Linked DNA regions of Homo sapiens: region 1 is linked to region 2. Evidence: promoter capture Hi-C in 16 types of primary human blood cells and fetal thymus (Javierre and others, 2016). All regions are on one chromosome and are shown on one strand. Each heading gives the region's core, a stretch centred on a gene start or on the middle of the fragment in contact. The rest is flanking DNA. Distances are from core to core; before and after follow the strand shown. Region 1 overlaps TANC2 (tetratricopeptide repeat, ankyrin repeat and coiled-coil containing 2). Region 2 holds the start of DCAF7 (DDB1 and CUL4 associated factor 7).

Region 1 (6,436 bases), core at 71-2,570, 130 kb after region 2:
GTATTTTCTCATCCATACCTACCCCGGGGGTAGGATCAAGTGTGATACAGTATTTAAAAGCCCTGCACAGTTCCCGGCACATAGTAGGTGCTCATTAATTATCGTTTTCTTTCTATTTCACAGAGGCTTCTCTGATCTGTTCCTTTTTTTAACTGGTTCCTTACTTAGGAAACACTTAAAATTAAAAATAAAACAAAACAAGAGAAGACCCCAGCTGTGACTGAGGTCTGTGCTCTCCCTAGAGGAACACGCTCACAGGCATGTCATTCCTGAGAACCCCTGGAAACAGAGACTGGGGGGTGGGGTGGGGAACAACGCCGACTAGGCAGCCTATGGTTTTCAGTATTCCCTTAAATACTAAGCTAAAAGAGAAGGCTTTCCCCTTCTTTTAGTGTCAAAGCCACAGTATAGCATGGTAGCCTCTGGTTATGGTCATGAGTCCTAAGGCAGAAAACAAGGCCTTGGGCAGAACAAAGGCCCTGGGGCATAGGTAAAAAAATTTTTTAAAAGTTGATGGGAAATCCTCTACCTAAGAAGACAGACGTCTGGTGTTTGGCACAGTATTGGCCCAGGAGGTGATTAACAACCGCTTCTGAACAAATGTGGAGCTAGAAAGAATTTCAGCTTTTATGGGTCACCCTCTCCCTGCTCTGCTTCCAGCCTTACCCTTTTATTTGTTCTTTTGGGACCATCATTATTCCTAAAAATATGAGGGCATTTTTAAAAAGTCTATTATTTGGTAGGGAAAAGAGATCAGTGGGTTGGCAGCAACTTCTGAGCTTTGCCTCATCCTCATCGGCTGGTGCAGGGGAGGCCTTGGTGCTGTTCCTTTCATTTCACAGGAGACCCCAAGAGCATGAAAATCTGTCTCCCGAGACCGCCACCTTCTCCCTTCCCGGGGTTGGGGGGCCTCTTCCACATCCCCACTTCCCTCAGCACCCTGGAGCAACTCTGCCTCTGAGGGCCATGGCCGTGTTCTCTGAGACAGTCAGGTTTAACTCTGCCTCTGAAGGTCATGGCTGTGTTCTCTGAGATAGGTTTAACTCTGCCTCTGAAGGTCATGGCTGTGTTCTCTGAGACAGTCAGGTTTAACTCTGCCTCTGAAGGTCATGGCTATGTTCTCTGAGACAGTCAGGTTTAACTCAGGTTCCTTCCAGTGTCAGGGTTTAGGGTCTGGAATGGATGATCTAAAGGTTACACACACAAATCTTTCTGGAAGATCCCTGGCCATGAGGTTCAAATCTTGCTTCTGTCCAGCTGAGTTTTTAATTGATCAATACATCTGTTTGGCTTGGATTATTTTTATCTCCTGAGGAACTGTGAGACCTCAGGCAGGTAGATGTCAGAGACTCCTGACACAATCTTAGCTATTTCCAAAACCTGAGAGAGGGTTCTTGGCTTGGAGTGTCTTCACGTTAAAGGGCAGTGGCTGAGGGAGCAGTGTCTGGGGACATGTGAGATGGGTCTGCAAGGTAGGCAGGAAGGACCGTGGCTTACCAGGGAGACGATAAAGGTCCAGGGGGAGTTCTGAGATTCCCCCTAGGACAAGAAGGGACATAGCATGCTGGGATACAAAGATGAGGAAAGAGGCGAAAAGTTCGATAGCCTCAGAAATTAAACCTTCAAGACCATGGTCCAAGCCCTCTCCTTAGCCCTTCTTCAAATGATAAGGGAATATACCTGAGAGTAATGACTACAATTCACATCTAATTGCAACTGGAATTCTAGTGACCACTGCTCTCACATTTTCCCAAAGACCAGAACACTGACTTGGTGGTATGGGGGTGGGAAAGATGGTATTCTCATCACTTTCAGTTAAATTATGAACATTCAGAAAGCTGCAAAGTACTCGCAGCATTAATTTCTGTACAGTTTGAGATACAGATTGTACTTAGACTTGATTTCTTTCAAATTGCAAATGTCAGTGCTCTGTGAAGGACAACCAAGTTCCAAATGGGGCAGAGGAGGATTTCAGGGGCCTGGTAAAAGCTAGTGAGTGACACAGGCTATCAGCTACCAGGATTGCAGAAAGGAGTTGGGGTGACAGGGACTTACGTTCATTTTCCTGCGACACCGAGAGAGGTTGAGGAGGAGAGACACCTTTAGTTCCCGGAAAGTTTTCAAGTCCTCACCAAACCCTTCTCTAGGGAACTTCTTCAGGGCGTACTGGTAGCGCTGGGCAGCTTCCTTTACTTTACCTTTCTAATGGGAGCACAAGATGGCGAAACACACAGTTGGTCTGCTGAACAGCTGAGGAAGTGTGGTCCCCACTCCCTTCTTCTTCTCAGCAGCTGTTACTAAGGGCTAACCCTCCCAAACGCCAGCCTAGAGAGGAGTTCTGGCCCTGATGGTGAGGGCAGAAGGGTCTAGTCTTTTCTATAGGAAACTCACCTGGCAGGAAAGGCAAGGTTGAGGGGATACCCAAGATACAAGCCAGGGAGGCAAAGCCTTGGCAAATGGAAGGCCCTGGACCCTGACTTCCCAACTGGATTCCAAAGAGGCTGACCATGCTCATTTCAAAGTTCCTTTGCTCTCTATAACACATATGACTTCCTAACCCCAAGCACTCCAAAGTTATTACTTCCTCCTTAATTTCTGGCTTGTCTGGAGAACTGTTTTTTTGGTCTGACGCTCCACCTGGCCAGCCCTCTAGAAGTCACTCTCTTCCTCATGAAGGATGTGGGAGCTAAAGCAGTCTAGCAGTTGCTTCCCTAATCTCATGGCATAAAATAATACCAATCAGTGTTCCCCATTTTTGGAAAGGCATGGAGTAGGGTGGCAGTAGAAAAGTGAAGTTTAGAGTTTGTGATTCCATCTGATGTTGCAGGAGGGATTATCCAAGAGGAAGTAAATCTATGACCAATTTAGAGATCTGGCCACAGCGACCTTGAACTTTTCTTCCACTTTGTATCTGAAAATCTATAAGCTGAGACCAGAAAGATGCAGGCGGCATCTCCCACCCCTTTAGCTGATCTTTATCCACTCTATTCCTTCTCTATAGTTACAACTCCACAGGGATCCCAGTCTTTTACTTTTCCCTTAGCACCATTCACTAAGGAGAGATTTGGAGTCTTTCAAGGTAGAATTCTGAGGGGAACAATAATGGCACTGCATATTTTCATTAAGAGGACTCCTCGCCTCAGAATACCAGAAGTTATGCTATAACCAGGACATAATCTGAGAGTAATGCCATTGTGAAGTCCATAAATATGACATCTAGGGTAATGAGGACCTTCTATGAAGTCACGTAAAATCAAGGTTGGGCCAGGGCTTAAGCTTCCTGAAAGCCTGGGAGTCCTAGATTACCGTGACTCATTCAAAGGGTACTTAGAAGATAGAATTCTGCTCCTAGGAACTTGTACACTCCTGACACAGGTGAGAATAATATGCTTCACAACTATTTCTCCTTATCTTTTAGTCTTGGGGAAGTGTCAGTGATGACTGCTGCCAAAAACTGGGTTGGATTTGTATGAAGCTTCGGGACAGGGTAATCCAGCTGATCCAGTGCGATGACTTTGACATGTAATAGACCAAGGAATTCATTTGTGTCAGGGTATGGAGCCTTCAGCTTGGACTGTGAGTACAAAAAGCCTCCACAGTTTTTGTTATTGTCATTCAGTGAATGATTTCAAACAAATCTTATAATTGCTATTTGTCTTGGTTTCCTTATCTTATTCAAGGATGCTGATAAGCTATTGTTACTATATACTTTTTAATCTATGTATATATTATGACATATGAAAGCTAGGATCAACATACTGGAAATAGCTATACTACATAATTTTACTTTGACTTGTCTCATGAGTTTCCAGATCCTACCTAACAGATTCCATGTAAAAATCGACAAAACCATGGGTGAGTGACCAGGTGAAACCAGGGCTTTAGATTGATCAGCTGCAGGCAACTATAGGCTACTCTTGCTCTCTTGGTAAGGCAGAACCCCAGGATCCCCAACATATGAGGCCATCACTGAGGAACAGTAGTTTCCCTTTGCCTCTACGCAAAGGATGAGAATTATCAAGACTTTGTAAGATTCTACACATGGAAAACAGTCAGTGGCTGTTCTGAAGAAACTGTGTCCCTCCCTCCCCTCACCTTATAAAACATGTCCCCCTCTTCCATCAGCTTGCTCAACAGGATGATCATGATGTCTGGCTTGGAGGTGGCCATCGCCCATGTGGCTGGACCTGTAGTGTACAGGATGCATGATGGGTAAAAAACTCATACAATGTAAGGGTGGTAGGAAGCTAGGTGAAAAAAATACCCTAGGGGAATTTCTGCTGAGAGAACAACTTGCTCCACAATTAGTACCTCATCTTTTAGACCTGGGAGTATTTTAGTAACTCCCACTGCCAAGAAGCTGCATTGGATTTGTATTCACCTTAAAATAAGAATACTTGAACCATGTGAGCCTGCCCCACGCGAGGGCAGCAAAGCCTGCGTGCTGCATGTGGGCAAGCAATGGCTCAGTTTGGAATTATTTTAAATAAGGAATTGGGAGGAAGGATTTATATTAAACATTACCACAGGATTTGAAAAGTCCAAAAAGGGTAATTTATTTTGGATTTGGGACTCAAAACCCCCAGATGTTTAGCCTCTTAACTTTAAAATATGTACTTTGCAGAAGGGAAACCACTGATAACTCTAAAGTTTCCCTTAAATGATAAGTACCAACTAGGACTCCCCGGGATTCACTTTGAAGCAGGAGCACAGTTCGAATGTCAATCAGATGTGAAACAAACCAACATTACTGAGGATGACTTTACCCACAAAAAGAAAGAAAAGGTTAAATTGATTAGTTTACAAATGCCTGAATTATTTACAAACTATGCTTTTCAAGGTTAGTTATCAAAAGTTCAAGTTATTCTCTACAACAGTCATTAAAAAAAATCTTCTTTTAAGGTGAAGTAAATTAAAAGATTAGAGGTGTAGGGAACTCATGCAGGCTAAACCAAAGAGGAGAAGGCAAAGCTGACCAAGCCATCAGACCACGCCTGATGCTGACAGCGGTGAAATATACCTCGTGGGCGACTCGGTAACGTCTGACAACCTTCAAAGAAAGGAGAAAACAAAAAGTTGTAGGAGAGGAAAAAAAAATGGATGAAGGTGAAAAAAAAAAAAAGAAGGAAAAAGCAGCAGTGAGAGGCAGGCAGCACAAAGCCAGCATATCAGCCAACCCTCGTCTATAGGTCTGTGGGCTTGGGGAGCAGCTGGGACAGCGGCAGCAGGGACTTGAGTCTGAAGCACATTCAGAGCAAGGGAAAGCAAAGGCTCACGGCAGCGCAGAGATCCAGGATGCTGATAGAGTGGGGCTGGAACAGAGGCAGTGCTGAGAGGTGCTTAAGGCCAGAGCAGCCTCCTGGCTAAGGCTACAAGGGACATGGTAGAGAACCACGTGGTTCTGGACACAGGGGACTGCAGACCATGGCTCAGATGGCGCTTTCCCTGGGCCAAGAGCCTCTCTGTTCACTTGGACAATAATTGGGCCAGGGAGGAGGGGGAACTATATACACTCACACCAAATACCCAGGGCAGCCAGACCACTGGACCAGTCTGGCCCCTGGGCACAGATGGCCAACATCCTCTTCCCTTCTCCTACCTATCTTGGCTCCTTTCTTCAGAAGAGTGACAACAACAGAAGTGTTCCGGCACCCCACTGCCCTATCCAAAGGGCGCATTCCACTGTAGTCAACGTGCTCGATCATGGCCCCATGATCTACCAGGAACTGGACCTAGGACACGGATCAAGCAGAGAAGTTAGGACAGGCGTAATGGCTCAGCACTGTTCCACCGAGGGCTCTGGCTGCTGCCTGCCCTTTTTCAACTGCTGGCCTACCCCAGGCTATGCTGCCATGTATTTCAGGCCTTAGCTATATCCTTGATCTTTAACAGCATTTTGAATATTCTTGCTCTCTAGCAAGTATAGATCTGAGAGCTCTGTATCAGGAATCATCAATACATCACTCCACTTTCAACCCCAGGTAGTATGGATGGAGAATAGCCCCTCTCTCTGCTCTCTTGAGGCTTGTTTAAAGGTACTTACCACCTCAGCATCGCCATAGAAAGCTGCCAGATCCAGTGGGGTACGGCCATTCTTGTCAGCATGGTCTGTGGCAGCTCCGTTATCCACCAGAGAACGTACTACTGAGAGATGGCCCTTCAAACAAGCCCAGCTGAGGGCTGTCAATCCTTCTTTGTCCATAAGAGCAATGGAGGCACCTGCAAAGGCAAGTGATAGCACAGGGCTGAGGAGACATGGAATCACACAGCAGGAGGGGAAGTACGCTGAAGGGGCATGCTCCTGCAAAGAACACTGCTCGTTTCTGGACTATTTCCATTTTAAGACTGATGCTGGTATGCCAGTTGTATCTCAACTGTTAAAAGTTCATCCTATAAGCTTTCAATAAAACAGATTCCAGTCGTTTTACTGAGTATT
Region 2 (5,661 bases), core at 115-2,614:
TCCTGAGCTCAGGTAATCCGCCCGCCTCGGCCTCCCAAAGTCCTGGGATTACAGGCGTGAGCCACCGCGCCCGGCCAGTTTTACTCTTCTTAAATCTGATGTTCATGGCATAAAGCAGGAGTAGTGGCTTTAAATATCACTAGCCACAGCTTTCAGTTGCTCTGATCGCTATCATTCACAACTTTGAGTAAAAGGAAGAAAGAAAATTCTTCCAACTGACTTATTCAACTTTCAAAAATGAGTTTGTTGCAATGCCAGTTTAAAAGCTCCCCTACTACACCGTGCTTCTATAAAGGATTCTCAAATTGATGTATGTCCAGCAAGACTTACTACTAAAGGTCACACAACTGTACTAGCACGAAACAAGCCAAGAGATAAGGCCCTGTCATCCTTCTGTGTTCAGGAAACAACGGCGGGATCATGCCACAGGCCAAGATTTCCAAAGAGATTGCTTTAGAGAGAATGGATATCAGGAAGCAAGAGCAACAGTAATTCTGGCAGAAGGGCTAGGATCCATGAGTACCCGGGGGGGGTGGGAGTAGGGGGCGGGGAAGCTTGTACAATAGATCGTCTTAATAGAAATCTAGTGTGGCCAGGAGTGCACGACCACCAATAGAAGCGCCTGCATTTTCCTTCACAGCTATCACTCTCTCTTCCCTTCCCCGCCCACCAACGAAAGCAATGCGGCAGGAGTGGAGAGCACGGGATGAATAAATGGAGTATCTTTGGGGCGTAAACCCGGTTTTAAGACCTGTTTCCACCCCGAAATAGCTGCCTGACCCAGGCAAGTCACAAAACCGTGCCTCAGTTTCCCCACTACACTGCCGACTACACAAGAATGCTGCCTGGATTAAAGGAGACAGACAACGAGTACGAAACCTTCAGCACAGGGCCAGACAGAGGAACCGCTCCGTGGCCCTAGGGCGAGTCCGCAAGAGGGTTCTGAGGCCTGGGCTCCGGCCCGGAAAGGGCGCTCCCGGGGCCCGCTCCCCGCCAGCTGGGTTCCGAGCCCCTGCCCGGCCCACCTTGTTGTTGTACTCCTCCACGAAGCTGCCCAGCGCCAAGCGAAAGCGCTTATCGGGCCGCACACTCCAGTTCATCGCGTAGACTGTCCAGGGCGCTTCATACTTGTAGATCTCCTTCCGTTTGCCGTGCAGGGACATGGTGGCCACGGGGCCGCAGTACGGGCCGGGTCAACAGTGGGCTGCGGCGGGCGGGGAGCCGAGCCTGAGATCTATGGGTCCGAAGGGAGGAGAGGAGGGGGCGGGCAGGAACGGCCTAACCCGGAAGCGGGGATGCGGCGACAAACAACGACGACGGCCGAGCCCGACCCCTAGTTTCAAACCAGCTTGGGAACGGACGACAACCACCTTCCGTTTTGGGACGCCGCCCCGCCCTCTCGGAACGGAAGCCGCCGGACCCCCGCAGCGGCACCGGCCGTTGGTTGCCTGACACGTCCTTTCGAAAGGATTCTTTCTTGTCATTGGTTATTGCGGCCGTAGCGTCTGAAATCTCCTCGCTATTGGGTTAAATGTTTGTCATTGCAACTACTCGCCCCGCCCAACTCTCGGAGGCAGGCGCTTTGGCAGCCCCAAAGGTCATTGGTTGGCCAAGATGTCAGTCAGGCAGATAACGGCTCAGTGCGGGTGGTGGGGGCGTGGGTGGCCTGGAGGCGAGCGTGCTGTAGCAGCGGGCCTCCAAGTTCTAGGCCAAGTCTCTGAGAGTGAAACCGTCTGTGACCTGCGCTGACTTCCCCTCCGCTGCTGCTGTTCTGAGCGGCCTCTCCACGCTGTCGAGTAAAAGTACAATTCTGCCTTAGTGGAAGACCTACTGACTTTCGCGGGACAGAGCCCTGCGGCCTGGCAGCCTGGCCTGCGCCCAACGGGTACCACCTTCCCGCCCCATCTCTTCCCAGGGCCCTTTTAACCCGAAAGCTGCTCTCTCCGTGCCTCAGGGACAGGCTTCGGGCGCGCAGATGCGCTCAGGGCCAGGCCAGCTTGAGTCAGGCCCTCCCGCGCTTTCCTGCAGGATCTAGAAATGTCCCCGAATTCTGGGGTAGGCACCGACCCGACCAGCTTGGCTCTGTTTTTGTCAGTTCCCATCCTGTACCCTTCCCGCCGTGGATCCCAACGCAAATGCTAATCCAGCCCCAAAGGTATCTGTGCCTGTGAGTTGGAAAAGGGGAAGGGCCAGAGACCAAATGACACCTTTATATAAATTATTTCCAATTCTCAGCTTTCATCAAAATTGAAGGAGGTTTGTATTGAATTGTTGGATGATAACATTAAATACTTTTTTTTTTTTTTTTTAAAGACAGGGTCTTGCCCTGTCACCCAGGCTGGAGTGCACTGGTGTGATAAGGGCTCACTGTAGCCTGGACTGCCTAGGTTCAAACGATTCCCCCACTTTAGCCTCTGGAGTAGCTGGAACCACAGACATTTGCCACCACACCTAGCTATTTTTAAATTATTATTTGTAGAGATGAGATCTCTCCATGTTGCCCAGGCTGATCTCGAACTCCTGGGCTCAAGCGATCCTCCCACATCAGCATCCTAAAGTACTGGGATTACAGGCTTGAGCCACCATTCTGGGCACTAAATATAATTTTTAATGATAAATGATTTTTCCACCTCCCAGGTTCAAGTGATTCTCCTGCTTCAGCCTCCCGAGTAGCTGAGATTACAGGGGTGCACCACCACAGCCAGCTAATTTTTGTATTTTTAGTAGAGATGGGGTTTCACCATGTTGGCCATTCTGGTGTCGAACTCCTGACCTCAAATGATCTTCCAGCCTCGGCCTCCCAAAGTGTTGGGATTACAGGCGTGAGCCACCGCATCTGGCCAAGAAATCCTCTTTTTTTTTTAATTTTATTTTATTTTTGAGATGGAGTCTCACTCTGTCGCCCGGGCTGTAGTGCAGTGGCACTATCTCGGCTCACTGCAACCTCTGCCTTTAGGGTTCAAGTGATTCTCTTGCTTCAGCCTCCTGAGTAGCTGGGATTACAGGCGCCCGCCACCATGCCCAGCTAAAGGAAATCCCCTGTAAGGAGGAAAGTTTAAAAACAAATTTAAAAAGGAAAGAAAAAGACGTACAAAATTCGCGGTACCTTGTCTTATTCTAATAAAAAATAATGATATTTATCCACAGATATAGGAACTAACGGGGGGAGGAAATTTTCTCTTTTATGACGTATATTTCCAATAAAATTTTAGTTTTTATTAGAAAATTGAATATATATTTATGTTGTTTTGAACAACTGTACTACTAATAGATGTAACCCTTAAAGCCTTATTAAGGTTACAAAAATTAATTTTAAAATGTCAATTAATTTATACACATTCGTTTTGAGGCAGGGTCTTGCTCTGTTATCCAGGTGGTGGTGCAGTGGGGCAAACAGTGCTTATTGCAGCCTTGACCTCCCGGGCTCAAGCAATCCTCCTGCCTCCTTTATTTTTTGTAGAGACAAGATCTTGCTATGTTGCCCAGGCTGGGTTCAACTGGTCCTCCCACCTCAGCCTCCCAAAATGCTGGGATTATAGGCATGAGCCACCCCATGACCGACCTACTTTTTTTTTGAAACGGAGTCTTGCTCTGTTGCCCACGCTGGAGTGCAGTGGCACGATCTTGGCTCACTACAAGCTCCACCTCCTGGGTTCACGCCATTCTCCTGCCTCAGCCTCCCGAGTAGCTGGGACTACAGGCACCTGCCACCACGCCTGGCTATTTTTTTTGTATTTTTAGTAGAGATGGGGTTTCACCCTGTTAGCCAGGATGGTCTTGATCTCCTGACCTCGTGATCTGCCCACCTCAGCCTCCCAAAGTGCTGGGATTACAGGTGTGAGCCACTGCGCCCAGCCACTTTTTTTTTTTTTTTTAAGAGACCGAGTCTTGCTCTGTTACCCGGGCTGGAGTACAGTTGCATGAACATGGCTTACTGCAGTCTTGACCTCTTAGGTTCAAGTGACTCTCCCACCCAAGCCTCCCAGCAAGCCCTGTAGTACCTGGGACTACAGGTGCGCATCACAATGCTTGGCTAATTAAAAAAAAATTGTTTTGTAGAGACCAGGTTGAGCTATGCTGCCCAGGCTGGTCTTGAATTCCTGGCTCAAGCAATCTTCCAGCCTCAGCCTCCCAAAGTGTTGGGATTACAGGCATGAGTGAGCCACTGCACCCAGCCTGTATACATATTTGTGTTGCAAACATATGATAGGGTGATCAATATTAGGCTTTGAAGCATACCAATAAATTACATGTAGGATAAAACTATGGGAGGAATAAGTGGGAATTATGAGAAAAGAAAAAAGAACGATGTTAAAGAAGGGTTTCTTGTGTTTTTAAAATAGATGGTGGTGGCTCTCAAATCGCTGCTATTTGGGTAGAAATGGGTCAATACAAATGCCCCGTGTTGGGCACGGGGATGATTTTTAAAATTTTCATTTTGAGACAGGGTCTTATTCCCTTGCCCAGGGTGTGAGTTCAGTGATGCAATCACGGCTTACTGTAACCTTGGACTCCTGGCCTCAAGCAGTCCTCCTGCCTCATCCTCCTCCCAAAGCCCTGGGATTACAGGCATGAGCCACTACACCTGGCCTCTTTTTTTATTTTTATTTTCTTTTTAACTGAGGTATAATTTACACACAGAAGCACACTCTTTCGCAACCTGAACACCTGTAACCAGCACCTAGATCAGGAAACAGAACAGTACCTGCACCTCAGAAATCCCCCTCATGTTTGGGTGTCTTAGTCTCTCTGCTACTGATCCCACATCTGTAAAATGGGGATAATAATACCAACCCGTTGGGGTTGTTTTGAGGATTAGATGAACAAGTATCTGCAGAGCTGTCAGCACAGTGCCTGGTACGGGGCGAGTGCTACCGAAGTGTTGGCTGTTGTCATGATCCCCTAGGGCCACCAAGCCAGTGCCTCTGCTTCCCTTCACCTCGGCCTAACAGCCCCAGGCTCCAGGAGCCTCTGGGCCCAGCAGAACCACCTTCAGGTCCCCAACACACTGGATATGGTGGAGGGTAAGTCTGCAGCTCCTTACAAGAAGGGTTTGGAGAAAGCCACAGCACAGTCAAAGACGTAATGACCTTCAGATAAGTTACACACCCAGTCCAACATGAAATGTGTACTTTATTAGCTGTGTGACACTCCACTGCCCTCAAGAGACCCAATGTCACAGAACCATCAGGAGCAGAGGGCTGGAGGACTGTCCTGACATGTCTGCCACAGAACATACCTCCATCTCCAGCCAGGTCAGAGGCTCATGGTAAGAGTTCTGACCAACCCCGGGCCTTGGTGCTGAGCCATGAGGTGCTGGAGGGTTCTGAGCTGGGAGGCTCAGAGCAAGGTACTCATGTAGATCAGAAACCTCTTTCTTCACTGCCCCCTCAATCCTGTAAGCTGCCTCCACACCTGAGACTCTCCCACCCTGCACCAGGCTTGCTGTTTAAATGGAGCCCTGGAGGAGGCTGGGAAAAGTCGTGAGCTTCTTCACCCACGCCATCCTGGGTCACCTGGATCAGCAGTTTGTAGCTACTTTAGGAGAGGCCCATCTGGGGGGCTGTCTGCCTCCCCAAGATCTTTTTTTTTTTTTTTTTTGAGTTGGAGTCTCACTCTGTCACCCAGGCTGGAGTGCAGTGGTGCGGCCTCGGCTCCCTG

What was found. Contacts are between HindIII fragments. The CHiCAGO score rates a contact against its expected background, and 5 or more counts as called.
Region 1: a contact is called between a fragment that was not itself captured here and the fragment with the promoter of DCAF7 in region 2, in 1 of 17 cell types (activated CD4 T cells). The highest score is 5.7, in activated CD4 T cells.

The regions. Positions count from the first base shown.
Region 1 is chr17:63,411,294-63,417,729 of GRCh38, reverse strand. It overlaps TANC2 (tetratricopeptide repeat, ankyrin repeat and coiled-coil containing 2), which reads right to left. Exons shown (of 28, transcript NM_001394998.1): 22 at 6,044-6,219; 23 at 5,600-5,732; 24 at 5,021-5,050; 25 at 4,096-4,187; 26 at 2,056-2,202. It overlaps LOC105371856 (a long non-coding RNA gene), which reads left to right and starts at 3,300. Exons shown (of 4, transcript NR_188626.1): 1 at 3,300-3,323; 2 at 3,419-3,576. The HindIII fragment of the contact is 3,917 bases long and covers 1-3,278 here.
Region 2 is chr17:63,546,180-63,551,840 of GRCh38, reverse strand. DCAF7 (DDB1 and CUL4 associated factor 7) reads right to left here and starts at 1,364. Exons shown (of 7, transcript NM_005828.5): 1 at 1,026-1,364. The coding sequence starts at 1,163. It overlaps KCNH6 (potassium voltage-gated channel subfamily H member 6), which reads right to left. Exons shown (of 13, transcript NM_001278919.2): 13 at 5,114-5,661. RefSeq lists silencers at 871-1,020, 1,041-1,090 and enhancers at 1,241-1,320, 1,761-2,150, 1,450-2,434. The HindIII fragment of the contact is 8,271 bases long and covers 557-5,661 here.